Regions from separate parts of the Homo sapiens genome. Here regions 1 and 3 are each linked to region 2. The links are contacts of gene promoters, found by promoter capture Hi-C in human tissues and cell types (Jung and others, 2019). All regions are on one chromosome and are shown on one strand. Each heading gives the region's core, a stretch centred on a gene start or on the middle of the fragment in contact. The rest is flanking DNA. Distances are from core to core; before and after follow the strand shown.

Region 1 (4,260 bases), core at 991-3,490, 230 kb after region 2:
CACTCAACAGATGTCTGGAGCAGGCATAGCAATCTGGGCTTTTTCATTCACTGAAACTATGAAAGCAGCATATTCAGTATCTTATAAAAAAAGGCATGGCTAATTTGCTTGTAATTTAAGTTTCACAGACTGGTTCATTAATCAAACTCATAAGAGTATCTTCCCCTCTTCTCTTTTGGCTTTCCTTTCCACAAAACAGACCCTGTGACATAACATTCATTTATGCTACTGTTGAATAGCAATAGCTGGATTATTATCTACGAACGCTGCTACAGTCCTTCTCAAACATACACAGGAGGCTTTGCTCTGTAAAACACTACAATTCTTTAATTTTACTAGGATGGAAATAAAAACCTTTTATTAAAGTAAACAAGATAATTCAGTAACATCTTAAAATTCCAATTTTAAATCCCAGTTTTGGAGTAGCAACAAAGCATTATGGTATGATAGAATGTCTTTTTAAGAGATGTTAGCTTATTTATTTTAAGAAGGAGGAGTCTCATTCTGTCACCCAGGCTGGAGTGTAATGGTGCGATCTAGGCTCACTGCAACCTCCACCTCCTGGGTTCAAGTGATTCTCCTGCCTCAGCCTCCTGAGCAGCTGGGATTACAGGCATGCACCACCTTGCCTGGCTAATTTTTGTATTTTTAATAGAGATGGGGTTTTCCCATGTTGGCCAGGCTGGTCTCAAACTCCTGACCTCTAGTGATCTGCCCGCCTCAGCCTCCCAAAGTGCTGGGATTACAGGTGTGAGCCACCGCGCCCGGCCAACATCAGATTTATTTTAAAAGAAGCTTTGCTTTTTATTATCAAAGGTGTCACAAATACCTAACCTCCTTTGTTGTCTGCCCTTCTTTCTTTTTATCTCAGAGGAAATCTCAGTCTGCACAAATTTCTTCATGGAAACATCTAAGCTAAAAACAGTCCTCTTAGCTGTCTCTAACTCCTAGCTACAAAGTTGTCACTATGATTTTAACTATTTTTTTTTTTTTTGAGATGGAGTCTTGCTCTGTAGCTCAGGCTGGAGTACAGTGGCACCTGATCTCAGCTCACTGCAACCTCCGCCTCCCGGATTCAAGCGATTCTCCTGCCTTAGCCTCCTGAGTAGCTCAGCTTACAGGTGCACGCCATCACACCCAGCTAATTTTTGTGTTTTTAGTAGAGATAGGGTTTCCCTATGTTGGCCAGGCTGGTCTCCATCTCCTGACTCCTTGATCTGCCCGCCTTGGCCTCCCAAAGCGCTGGGATTACAGGTGTGAGCCACCACACCCAGCTTCATTTTAACTTTCAAAAACAACTTACAAACTTATATTAACAAATCAGTAACTATTAGTAAACTTAACTGGAAGAATAAACTGCCAAGTATATAATTATTTAGAAATAAAGTAACATTTCTCAAAAGCTGTTACCAAATAAATGTCACTTTCACTGAACTCTGCATTAGGAATCAGGCTATAAGAAGTCCTTTATATAAAGAGGACAAATGCTAGGCTAATCCTTTTCTCTCTGACTCGTCTTCATTATGAAATAATTTCAACTTTTTCTCAAAGAAATTCATAAAACTATCCACAATTTGGAAAATGAATTGAAATTGCAAACAAAAAAGATTGCTGGGAATGGGTGGTATCTGCCCTGTTTCACTAGACTACTTGTTCTTAAAGCTGTCCAGTCAAGGAATCCTACCATTTCCTCAGTAATCTGGCTCCTGCATCCAATAACCATTAAAAATACACTGCCCGGTTTAAATGGGCAGATTAATAACTCAACTCGTATCATGAATTTTAACAAAAGTCTTAAATAGGCCTCCAGTCTATCTTATAGGCTATAAAGCAGAAGCCAGGCAGAAAAGTTCTTCTCACAGCACAACCTGCTTTAACAGGTTTTTGTTTTGATGTTTATTTGCTTGTTTGGTTTTTCTGTCACCCAGGCTGGAGTGCAGTGGCACAATCTTCTCATTGCAACCTCCAACTCCTGGGTTCAAGCAATTCTGCCTCAGCTTCCTGGGTAGCTGGGATTACAGGCACCCGCCATCGCACCTGGCTAACTTTTGTATTTTATTTTAGTAGAGACGGGGTTTCACCACATTGGCCAGGCTGGCCTCGAACTCCTGACCTCAAGTGATCCACCCGCCTCAGCCTCGCAAAGTGCTGGGATTACAGGCATGAGCCACTGCACCCGGCCTGCTTGTTTAAACTATTCTTTATTATCAAGATGACCCTGCTGTTGGTTGAAGGAAATGGCCAAAAATTAAAAGGAGGGAACTAACTAAAACACTAAGAAAGTGTTATAGTGTAACCAATACAAGCTGGTTAAGAATTGTCTTTCTGTGTTAAAATAGAGTTGTATTTTACACACTGTGAATAACCACAATAACCATGTACTATTCTTTTAATCAGGAAAAGGGTTATTATATACATGTACACAATGTTGCGGAACATGAACAATTCCTACAGCAAGCAATAACTGCAGTCTTTTAATATAGCCTGTGTCATACTATAAAAAGAAATTCCAACACAATATATATATGTGCTATCCATTAAAATAAATAAACTATTAAATGCTATACTGTAACTTACTCTAACATTAAGGCCAGGCAAATTCTATGCCATTTAATAGGGCCAAATTTACTCAAGTCCAAGTCTATGAGTATAAGCTTGTAAAACAGACTTACTAAAAATGTATTTTCCTGCTACTTTATGACACTGGCGCTCTATTTCCATAGATACACACTAGTGCATTGAGGAAAATCACAAGTACCCAAAAAGAAGGGAAATGTACCGAAATTATTCAAATACCTTACAATATTCATTTTACTACTTACTAAAGAACTTCTTTAGGAGTTGTAAAAAACCTGTATTTACTCAACCTCAGCCTATAGAAAGAACAACAGTTCTGCTTCCTTCCCCTTGAGTATGGGAGAATACTCTTACAGACCCCTATGAAGTTAAAGCAACACTTCCATTATCTTCTTAAACCGTAACTGCTATTAGAACAAATCCCTTAAAAAGAAGATAGCGACTGCTCATATTAAATTGAAATAATAATTTCCCTTCTTTTAAATGCAGCATGCCTATATGCTGCATTCTGAAGTCAATGTGGTCTTTATCTGCAAAGACTCAAACATATTCTAATTCTGTATGTTTCCTTATTCTCTAAAATTTAGAAGTCTTATCATAAATACATGATTTAGTAACTGACACCCACATATAATCAAATTTAAACTCATGCCATAATTGTGAAATCACCTGTAAAATTTATAATCTTTTGTACAAATTTTAAACGTGGTTCATAAGTCTCATAGCTTATATATCCTGATCAATTGTAATGTTCAAAAAACTAATGTATAAGTGGCAATTTCAAAGGTAGAAAAAACAAGTTTGTAAGGACTAATGTGATTTAACATTATGTTCTAATCTTCTGGAGTTATACAGTATTTATGAATCTTGGTAAGTCAGATGATAGGGTCCTGGTTTCAAGGAAAGATCACAACTTTTCTTCTACATATCAGTCAGGCCTAGTCACTCCATCTTTGGTGAAAGTCATGGGACAGTAAGGATTATATATAACTATATATATAAGTAACTTAAAAGGAGGGAAGGGAAACCATATTTCCCTTTAGTATTCTCCTCTCAACTTTTCTTCAGTGTATACAATCTTTCCCTCATCTAGTTGTTACTATTTTTTTCACCTCCATGCCTGTCTTGCTAAATTTGTGAGGACATATGAACAAATAGCAATCAGTTTTAATTCATTAGCACGTGAATACACATCTTTTAGTTATCTAATGGGTGAGCACCCACTGATACTATCAAAGAAAGTTTTCTGCCAGTCAAGTTCTAGGAAACTACTATGCTGATTATTGATGACATTTCACACTTCTTATAATACACATGCTACATCGTAGGTTAGAGTTTGGTTGATTTACAAAATTAAGCCCACAGACAAAGTGTTTTCCAAACCACACATCCCTAAATATTTAAATCCCTGGACATTCTTTCAGATCTCAAGGTTCTATATTCCATTTAATGAGTGGTACAAAGTATAAGCCTCTATGACAGATCTGTAAAATTAGTTATGCGCTGTGGGTATAATTACTTGCACTGCTCCTTTTCAAAATCTTGCCCTCTACTTATATTGAGCAGATCAACATCCTTCAGTGAAAGAACCTCAAATATAAAAATTTGAGATTTTAATTTTTTTTAAGTTTACAAATTCTTTGCTTAAATGGAAGGGGAGAGGAGAACAACTGAAAGCATTAA
Region 2 (4,207 bases), core at 580-3,079:
AGCTTGGCATTGAAAGGATATGGTGAGGTTGCCAGGCATGGTGGCTTATGCCTATACTCACAGCTACAGTGGGGTAGATTGCTTAAGGCCAGGAGTTTGAAACCAGCCTGGGCAACATAGTGAGATCCTGTCTTTAAAAAAATTAAAAACAAAAATTAGCTGGCCATGGTTCCACATGCCTGTAGTCCTAGCTAATTGGGAGGCTAAGGCAGGAGCACCGCTTGAGCCCAGGAGTTTGAGGATGTAGTTAGCTATGATTGTGTGACTGTACTCCAGTCTGGGTGACAAGAGTAAGACCCCATCTCTTTAAAAAATAAAAATAAAAAAGGGTATGGTGAGTTTGAAAAACAGCAAAAAGCAGATAAAGCGAAAATGATTGTAGTTGATAGAAGGGCAGCATGGAGGATGAAAAGAGTAGAAACAGACTGGAGACAGGAAAGCCAGGTAGGAGGCAGTCTCTGTAATTAGGCAAGAACTAATGAGGGTGTGGACTAAGGAAGAAACAGTGGAAATGAAGACAAGAAGCTGAACTCACAGAAACATTTTGGAGGTCACATAAGCAGGATTTTGACAACAGATTCGTTTGTTGTATGAAGATCCTGGACTGAATGAAGTCTAGGGTTTGGGAGTTTTGAAGGGATAATGACCCATTAAATGAGCTGGCAAATACAGGTGGTAAAGCAGGTCTGGGATGTTCAGAGAAGGGTGGGAACACGGAATGGATGCCAGAAGCTGGGAGAAAAGCCAAGTTCATGCCTGTGGAAAAATGGAATTGAGGATGGGGCTAAAATTGGACAGAGGAAACTTAATCTGTAATGTTTTTCTTCTTTTCAAAAATAACTTGAAGTGGTTGTACATATCTGGTGTGATATACACAAATGCTTAATTTCTCTATTTTTAAAAAACTTCCCAAAATTAGTGCTTGGAATTATTTAAAATAATGTAGCAAACATTTTTGGAGTGCCTGCTATGTGTCTGGCACTGTTTCAGGCATTTGAAATATTTGCTCTCTATGAAGCCTTCCTTTCAGCAGTTAGCAGGCCTGGAGTTCAGAAGCCAGAAACTGGCTTCTGATTCTGACGCAGTCAGTAAGTGTATGACCTGGGCAAGTTGCTTCCCTGCGGCGTCCCACGCCCCCAAAACCCCCCACCCCCCCACCCGTGCCAGGAATCTATCGCAGTTCTCAAGTCCTGTGACTTAATACCGCAGCTGGCACCTCAGAATTCCTTATTCTTACAGAGCTGGTCCCCACAGTACCGCCCCTGGGCGTAAACTCCTCCATACAGGGAGTGTAGATGATGGGCTGACCTAAGAACGGTTTCCAAATGGTCCTTTACACCTCTGCCTCCCACCCCACTCTAGCCCAGGATAACAGATTTTCCTCGCGCAATTTCAAATTTGCAAGGGAATCTTGAATATTTTCTGGTAATGAGAGAGGGTAGATTATATGTCCTAATCCCAGCCTAATCAGATTAACAGCAACTTCTGGACATTCAGTACCAGGAACTGTTTTAGGTGCTGTGGAGAGAAGAGTTAAAAATGAAACAAAAATTATTGCCTTCATGAGCCTCACATTAGTGGACAGAGTCCAAAAAAAAAGTGACAACGTAATGCGCTACTGCGACACAAAGCAAAGCAAGGTGGGCAAGCAACACTAGTTCTTTATTCCCGCACGCCCTAATCCCCAAGTAGCTCTTCCGGGTCACTGCAGTCTTCACGGGCTCCAGACTCCGCCCATGGTCCGTCCTTCAGGCCTTGACTCCGCCCACGCATCGACGTAGAATTTCCCGGCCGGGCTCCATGAAGTACCACCCACCCGCGACGCCGACGCAAGGCTGCTGCTATGGGGCCGGGCGGCCGTGTGGCGCGGCTGCTCGCCCCACTAATGTGGCGCAGGGCGGTTTCCTCGGTGGCGGGGTCCGCGGTTGGAGCCGAGCCCGGGCTTCGGCTGCTGGCCGTGCAGCGGCTTCCCGTAGGAGCAGCGTTCTGCCGGGCTTGCCAGACCCCAAACTTTGTCCGCGGCCTGCACAGCGAGCCTGGGCTGGAGGAGCGGGCGGAGGGGACGGTCAACGAGGGACGCCCAGAATCGGACGCGGCAGGTACGGGCGTGGAGAAGAACGAAGGCGACCCTCTCCGGGCAGTCTGGAGTCAGGTCCCAGCCAAGGTGGCTCTGGGTTCCCCTCTATGTGCATTTCTCTTGGAGTCACAAAACTCCTGCACATCCAGAGCTGGAAGGGACTTCAAAGGTTGTTGGCGCCAACCTTCCCGTTTCACAGTGAAGAAATTGAGGGCAAGAGATGAACTGCAGAATCCCAGCCTCCCGGACGGCCATCTCCCACCCTTGGCATCACAGTCTCACCGTCCTCACTTCCTTTTACCCTCTTCCTAGGATCCTGGGAAATGGGTTTGTGGGGACTGTTGGGGCTTGAGGATTCTGAGGAGCCAGGGTCTGGGTGCGAAGGGGTGCGTAGGAAGCGCCAGTAGGAGATGGGTCCAAGTTAATATCCTCTAGTTATTGCTGACGTTTTTAGAAACTTAAGAATGGTAAACAGATCACATCTAAGAATGTAGAGTATGAGAGGGAGAGGCCTTAGTGGGCTTAGCTACTAGGTCCTTTGGAGTCGGCTTTAGAACTTGGGCGAGCTTTTAAATTTACAGCCTGTAATACTCCAAGCTGAAGATCAGAATATCTAAATCTTTACGGGAAAAAAAATTAGATTTTCATAGGTAACAGTTGTTAATAACCCGGTGGTTTTATATGAAAACTGGAAGGTTCAAAATAATAATTACTCAAAAATGTAGCTCTTTCAGTGACTGATCTTAGGCCACAGTAATTCTCCTAGGCCTCAGTTTCTTCATCTCTCAACTGAAGGTTGTGGACCAGATACTGCCTAAGAGCCCTTCCAGCTCACAATTCTGTGACCCGTTATGACTGAGATTCAATTTAATATGCTCCAGGATATCACCTCCTACCCATTTTGTGGTGCTGTTTTTCTTTGCACAGCATTTCTGTGATTGTGGTGTATTGCTCCTTTTAAGTATTAGTAGAAAGTCATTTGTCACTGGTGTCTGGTTCTACTTGCATATGGTTAATAGCGAAGGATGTATAGTGGCTCTGCGTAATCTGAGCACCCTGACCATAAAAGTTGAGCGGTGCTATGATACTACTGCCCAGGTTCACCTTCCAGGAGGCCTTTACCCTGCTATCTGTAAAAACACTTTGGATCTAAACACCCTCATGGAGGAACAGTCAGCTGCCGGCATCTCTGGGTGCATACACGTCTATCTGCTTGGCCATCCTGATACAAACAACTATTTGTGCATTTCAGATCATACTGGTCCCAAGTTTGACATCGATATGATGGTTTCACTTCTGAGGCAAGAAAATGCAAGAGACATTTGTGTGATCCAGGTTCCTCCAGAAATGAGATATACAGATTACTTTGTGATTGTTAGTGGAACTTCTACCCGACACTTACATGCCATGGCCTTCTACGTTGTGAAAATGGTAGGATGCTTTCTTTTCTCTTTTGGACCATTAACTGAGTGGAATAGTGACAGTGCATCAGGCCAAGGAGCAACACTTAGAGGGTAAACCCATCATACAAAGTTACAGAAGAAGCCCAAATTTTCAGAATTTGCATGAATTCATTTTATGTTCTTTGATAGTGAAACATATGGGAGCAAATATCCAGCCCTATTGAGTTAGGATATATCAAAATCTTTTCTCTTGTGACCGCAAGGAAGATTTTTTTTTTTTTTCTAATTGAGATGGAGTTTTGCTCTTGTTGCCCAGGCTGGAGTGCAATGGCGCGATCTCTGCTCACCGCAACCTCCGCCTCCCGGGTTTAAGTGATTCTCCTGCCTCATCCTCCTGAGTAGCTGGGATTACAGGCATGCGCCACCAGGCCCAGATAATTTTGTATTTTTAGTAGAGACGGGTTTCTCCATGTTGGTCAGGCTGGTCTCAAACTCCTGACCTCAGGGGATCCGCCTGCCTCAGCCTCCTAAAGTGCTAGGATTACTGGCATGAGCCACCTCACCCGGCCGGAAAATAATATTTTATAACCTGAGGCAAGCTAGAAGACAGTATAACCAGAGGGATTTCTAGAGGCACTATCCATTACGGTAGCCACTAGCTACATGTGCCTATTTAATTATAAATTAAAATATAAATTCAGCCGGGCGTGGTGGCTCAAGCCTGTAA
Region 3 (4,579 bases), core at 1,599-4,098, 140 kb after region 2:
TCACTTACACAGATATTCAGGAAAATTGTTCAATATAATAACAACATGAATCCCAATCTCCTGGAGGAAACACTAGAAATTATCGAACTTACTTTCAAATTTTAATTTTTTTGAGACGGAGTCTCACTCTGTTGCCCAGGCTGAAGTGCAGTGCCACGATCTCGGCTCACTGCAACCTCCACCTCCCAGGTTCAAGTAATTCTCCTGTCTCAGTCTCCCAAGAGATTACAGGCACCCACCACCATGCCTGGCTAATTTTTGTATTTTTCGTAAAGACGAGGTTTCTCCATGTTAGCCAGGCTGGTCTTGAATTCCTGAGCTTAAGTAATCTGCCCCCCTTGGCATTCCCAAAGTGCTGGAATTACAGGCATGAACCACCAAGCCACTACACTGGGCCACATACAAATTTTATAAAGAAGACTCAAGGTCACATCAACATAGATCATTTCAAGGCAAATATCCAACCTCAGTCACCATCTAAGGTAAATGAGACAAATAAGTACACTAACTGACAAAAGATCCAATGCATATGATGTTTCAAGAAGTTCCCTTTGACCAGCCTGGGCAACACAGTGAGACCGACTCTATTTTTAAAAAATTTTTTAATTCCTTTCTACTGGGAAGTCATTTCAAGGACCCCACACGCTTATAATGGTTGTTAGGCTGATAAAATAATCTTTAAAAATTTAGTTAAATAAATTTAGTTATAATAACCCTAGTTGTGGTCCTTTAAAACTTCAGTAACTATGTCACACTTCCAGTTAAATTACTTTCTCAGAAAAGATGACAGATTTCCAGTAGCAATAATGTAAAATCTACTTAATAAACTCATAAGACTGAGATGCTAAAAAAAATTTAACGATTCTACTTTCCACCATTATAGTTGTTAAAAATGTTACATATTTTTCAATTTCAATTTAAAAAGTTACATGTTTATAGGCCAGGCATGGTGGCTGACACCTGTAATCCTAACATTTTGGGAGGCTGAAGTAGAATCACTTCAGTCCAGGAGCTAAAGACCAGCCTGGGCAACGAAGTGAGACCTCATCTCAACAAAAATTTTTAAAACTAGCTGGGCACAGTGACATGTACCTGTAAGCCCTAGCTACTCGAAGGCTGAGGCAAAAGAATCCCTTAAGCCCAGGAGTTTGAGGCTGCAATGAGCTATGATACCACCATTGCACTCCGGGCTGGGGACAGAGACCTTGCCTCAAAATAAAAAATAAAATAAAAAGTGACATGTTTGGCCGGGCACGGTGGCTCACGCCTGTAATCCCAGCACTTTGGGACGCCGAGGTGGGCAGATCATGAAGTCAGGAGATCTCAAGACCATCCTGGCTAACACGGTGAAACCCCACCTACTAAAAATACAAAAAAAAAAAAATTAGCCGGGTGTGGTGGCGGGCGCCTGTAGTCCCAGCTACTTGGGAGGCTGAGGCAGGAGAATGGCGTGAGTAGGGGGCGGAGCTTGCAGTGAGCCAAGATCGTGCCACTGCACTCCAGCCTGGGAGACAACGAGACTCCGTCTCAAAAAAAAAAAAAAAAAAAAAAAGACATGTTTAAACTCTGTCCCTTATGATAATGTAGGTTGTGATATCATGCTTATAATCAGTGTGATTACACAACACACACTACCCCTATGAGTTTAACACGTAACCAACCAATCTCACAGAGGATACAAGTCTCTCAAAGGAAGAAAAACTCTTGGTCTCCTTTCCAGTGTTGATATAATTGGTCAAAACATTTAACATAAACAAAGAAACTGAGGTGGGTGGGAGCACCAAGCACCAAAGATAGAAACAAATGGCTCTCACCTTTGCATAGTACTCACACTCAACAGTACCTAGAGCACATCTACCTGCCCTCGGGCTTTCTCTGTAACAGAACCACAAAAATTTACAATGGCCCTTTCCTCTCTGCCAAACCTTCTATCTCTTTTTTGAAAGCTTTACAATTAGTTGAGGGAGGTGGCTCACACCTGTAATCACAGCACTTTGGGAGGCCGAGGTGGGCAGATCACGAGGTCAGGAGATCGAGACCATCCTGGCTAATACGGTGAAACCCCGTCTCTACTAAAAATACAAAAAATTAGCTGGGTGTGGTGGCACGCGCCTGCAGTCCCAGCTACTCGGGAGGCTGAGGCAGGAGAATCACTGGAACCCAGGAGGCAGAGGTTGCAGTGAGCCAAGATCGTGCCACTGCACTCCAGCCTGGACAACAGAGCAGAAATTGTTTAGTTATTTCAAAAAAAAAAAAAAAAATTAGCTGGGCATGGTGGCACGTGCCCTTAATCCCAGTTACTGCAGAGGCCAAGACAGGAGAATCACTTCAACCCAGGAGGCAGAGGTTGCAGTGAGCCGAGATCGTGCCACTGCACTCCAGCCTGGGCAACAGAGAGAGACTCTGTTTCAAAACAAAGCTTTATAATTTGAAAAATCATCATAAACTAAATCTGTTATTAACAATCTGTATAGGGTATTACACTTTAGTGGGATGGGCCTTAACACCTTGTAAAAATGTTGAAATCAGTGTTTTGGAAATGCGTAAGCTTTAAGAATGTGTTACACAGCCAAGTACTTTAACAACTGCCTGAAACAGACTAGTAGAATCAAGTGCAAACATAAGCTATCCCGACATACTGTCTATTGGGGGAGCGGCACACCAGGACTCCAACAACCCCTAACCACCAGCCACCTGTCCACATATCAGGTCATTTTTATTTTTACGCAGGCTCTACTAGGGCTATAGAAGGACCTAAGTCAAAGTTTTAGCTTTTTTCTAAGAGGTCCCACATCATATACATAAACAAATTTAAGCCTACTCTACTGACGATTAAACCTTGAACATAAGAATACAATATCAGTTGCAAGCATTTGGGATTCTGAATCCCTTCTCTATAGATTTATCTATCAGACATCATTTAAATAGTTATTTACCCCTATGTTTACAACTTTAGGTATCCTGGGACTTGGGAAGGCTTTACACACATAAATAACTTAAAAATTAGTTGCAGAATCCTACAAGCAGAAAAGAATAGCAAATAATATACTTGAAGTATTTTTTGGTCTACCATTTCAAGAGCCTATATATTCAGAGTCATGACAGTTATGAGACTGAATAAATAGCATCAAAACCACCAGATCTGATTTACTTCTAACAAGACACACATCTTAAGGTGGAAGGATCGCTTGAGGCCAGGAGTTCAAGACCAGCCTGGGCAATATAGTGAGATCACATCTCTGCAAAAAATAAAGACACATATGTTAAGACCAGGCACGGTGGTTCACACCTGTAATCCCAGCACTTTGGGAGGCCGAGGTGGACGGATCATGAGGTCAAGAGATCGAGACCATCCTGGCCAACATGGTGAAACCCCATCTCTACTAAAAATACAAAAATTAGCTGGGCTTGGTGGTGCACGCCTGTAGTTCCAGCTACTTGGGAGGCTGAGGCAGGAGAATCGCTTGAACCCGGGAGGCCGAGGTTGCAGTGAGCTGAGATCGTGCCACTGCACTCCAGCCTGGGGACAAGAGTGAGACTCCATCTCTTAAAAAAAAAAAAAAAAAAAAAAAAAAAAAAGACACATATGTTAAAATTCTGTAGATTTAGGGAAAAAAAAAAAGACTTGCAGAACCTTAACTGCTCCCACCTCTACCAGAAATTGCAAATTACCTACTCAGAGAGTGTGAAAACTCAGTCCAGCTAAGCATTTAAAGTGACTGCCAATTATGACAGTGGTTAAAAATATTATACTTGTATCATTCACATAAATCTGTTTATAAATTGAATAAGATTACTATAAAATGTTAATTATTCTGGCTGGGCGGGGTGGCTCATGCCTTTAATCCCAGCACTTTGGGAGGCAGAGGCGGGCGGATCACCTGAGGTCGTGAGTTTGAGACCAGCCTGGCCAACAAGGAGAAACCCCGTCTCTACTAAAAATACAAAAAAATTAGCCGGGTGTGGTGGTGCATGCCTGTAATCCCACCTACTCGGGAGGCTGAGGCATGAGAATCACTTGAACCTGGGAGGCAGAGGCTGCAGTCAGCCAAGATCATGCCATTGCACTCCAGCCTGGGCAACAAGAGTGAAACTCTGTCTCAAGAAAATTTTTTTAAAAAGTTAATTTTTCTCTTTCAAAATTGTAAATTAATGCTTTTCTGTCTCCCTAGCACCTAGGCATAATGGTTGTCATTGGCAGGGCTCAAAACATAAGTTGAAAGAAAATGAAATTTCAAGTAAGCAATGGAAATCAAACTGCAAACATCAACAACATTAAAATGTAATCCCTTAAGGCAGATTTATCAGTTGTGTAACGGATTAATGTCATCTTAGGTTTTATGCAAGGTCAATAACATAGAATAACATTCCATTTTTGTTTTGTTTTTTTTAGATGGAGACTTGCTCTGTCACCCAGGCTGGAGTACAGTGGCCTGATCTGAGCTCAGTGCAACCACCGTCGCCCGGGTTCAAGCAATCCTCCTGCCTCAGCCTCTGGAGTAGCTGGGATTACAGGCACCCACTACCACGCCCAGCTAATTTTTGTATTTTCAGTAGAGACAGGGTTTCGCCATGTTGG

The links. Contacts are between HindIII fragments. The study calls those that stand out against the background at their distance.
Region 1: a contact is called between a fragment that was not itself captured here and the fragment with the promoter of MALSU1 in region 2, in 2 of the 25 tissues and cell types used here (IMR-90 fibroblasts and dorsolateral prefrontal cortex).
Region 3: a fragment that was not itself captured here is called in contact with the fragment with the promoter of MALSU1 in region 2 in 1 of the 25 tissues and cell types used here (pancreas).

What each region holds. Positions count from the first base shown.
Region 1 is chr7:23,523,714-23,527,973 of GRCh38, forward strand. All of the region lies in intron 1 of TRA2A (transformer 2 alpha homolog), which reads right to left. Among named protein-coding and RNA genes, the nearest start is that of TRA2A, 6.1 kb to the right of the region's middle. The HindIII fragment of the contact is 5,751 bases long and covers 1-4,260 here.
Region 2 is chr7:23,297,510-23,301,716 of GRCh38, forward strand. MALSU1 (mitochondrial assembly of ribosomal large subunit 1) reads left to right here and starts at 1,830. Exons shown (of 4, transcript NM_138446.2): 1 at 1,830-2,099; 2 at 3,330-3,508. The coding sequence starts at 1,844. RefSeq lists an enhancer at 1,647-2,136. The HindIII fragment of the contact is 12,532 bases long and covers 1-4,207 here.
Region 3 is chr7:23,438,026-23,442,604 of GRCh38, forward strand. The region is part of intron 2 of IGF2BP3 (insulin like growth factor 2 mRNA binding protein 3); the gene reads right to left. Among named protein-coding and RNA genes, the nearest start is that of IGF2BP3, 30 kb to the right of the region's middle. The HindIII fragment of the contact is 4,095 bases long and covers 802-4,579 here.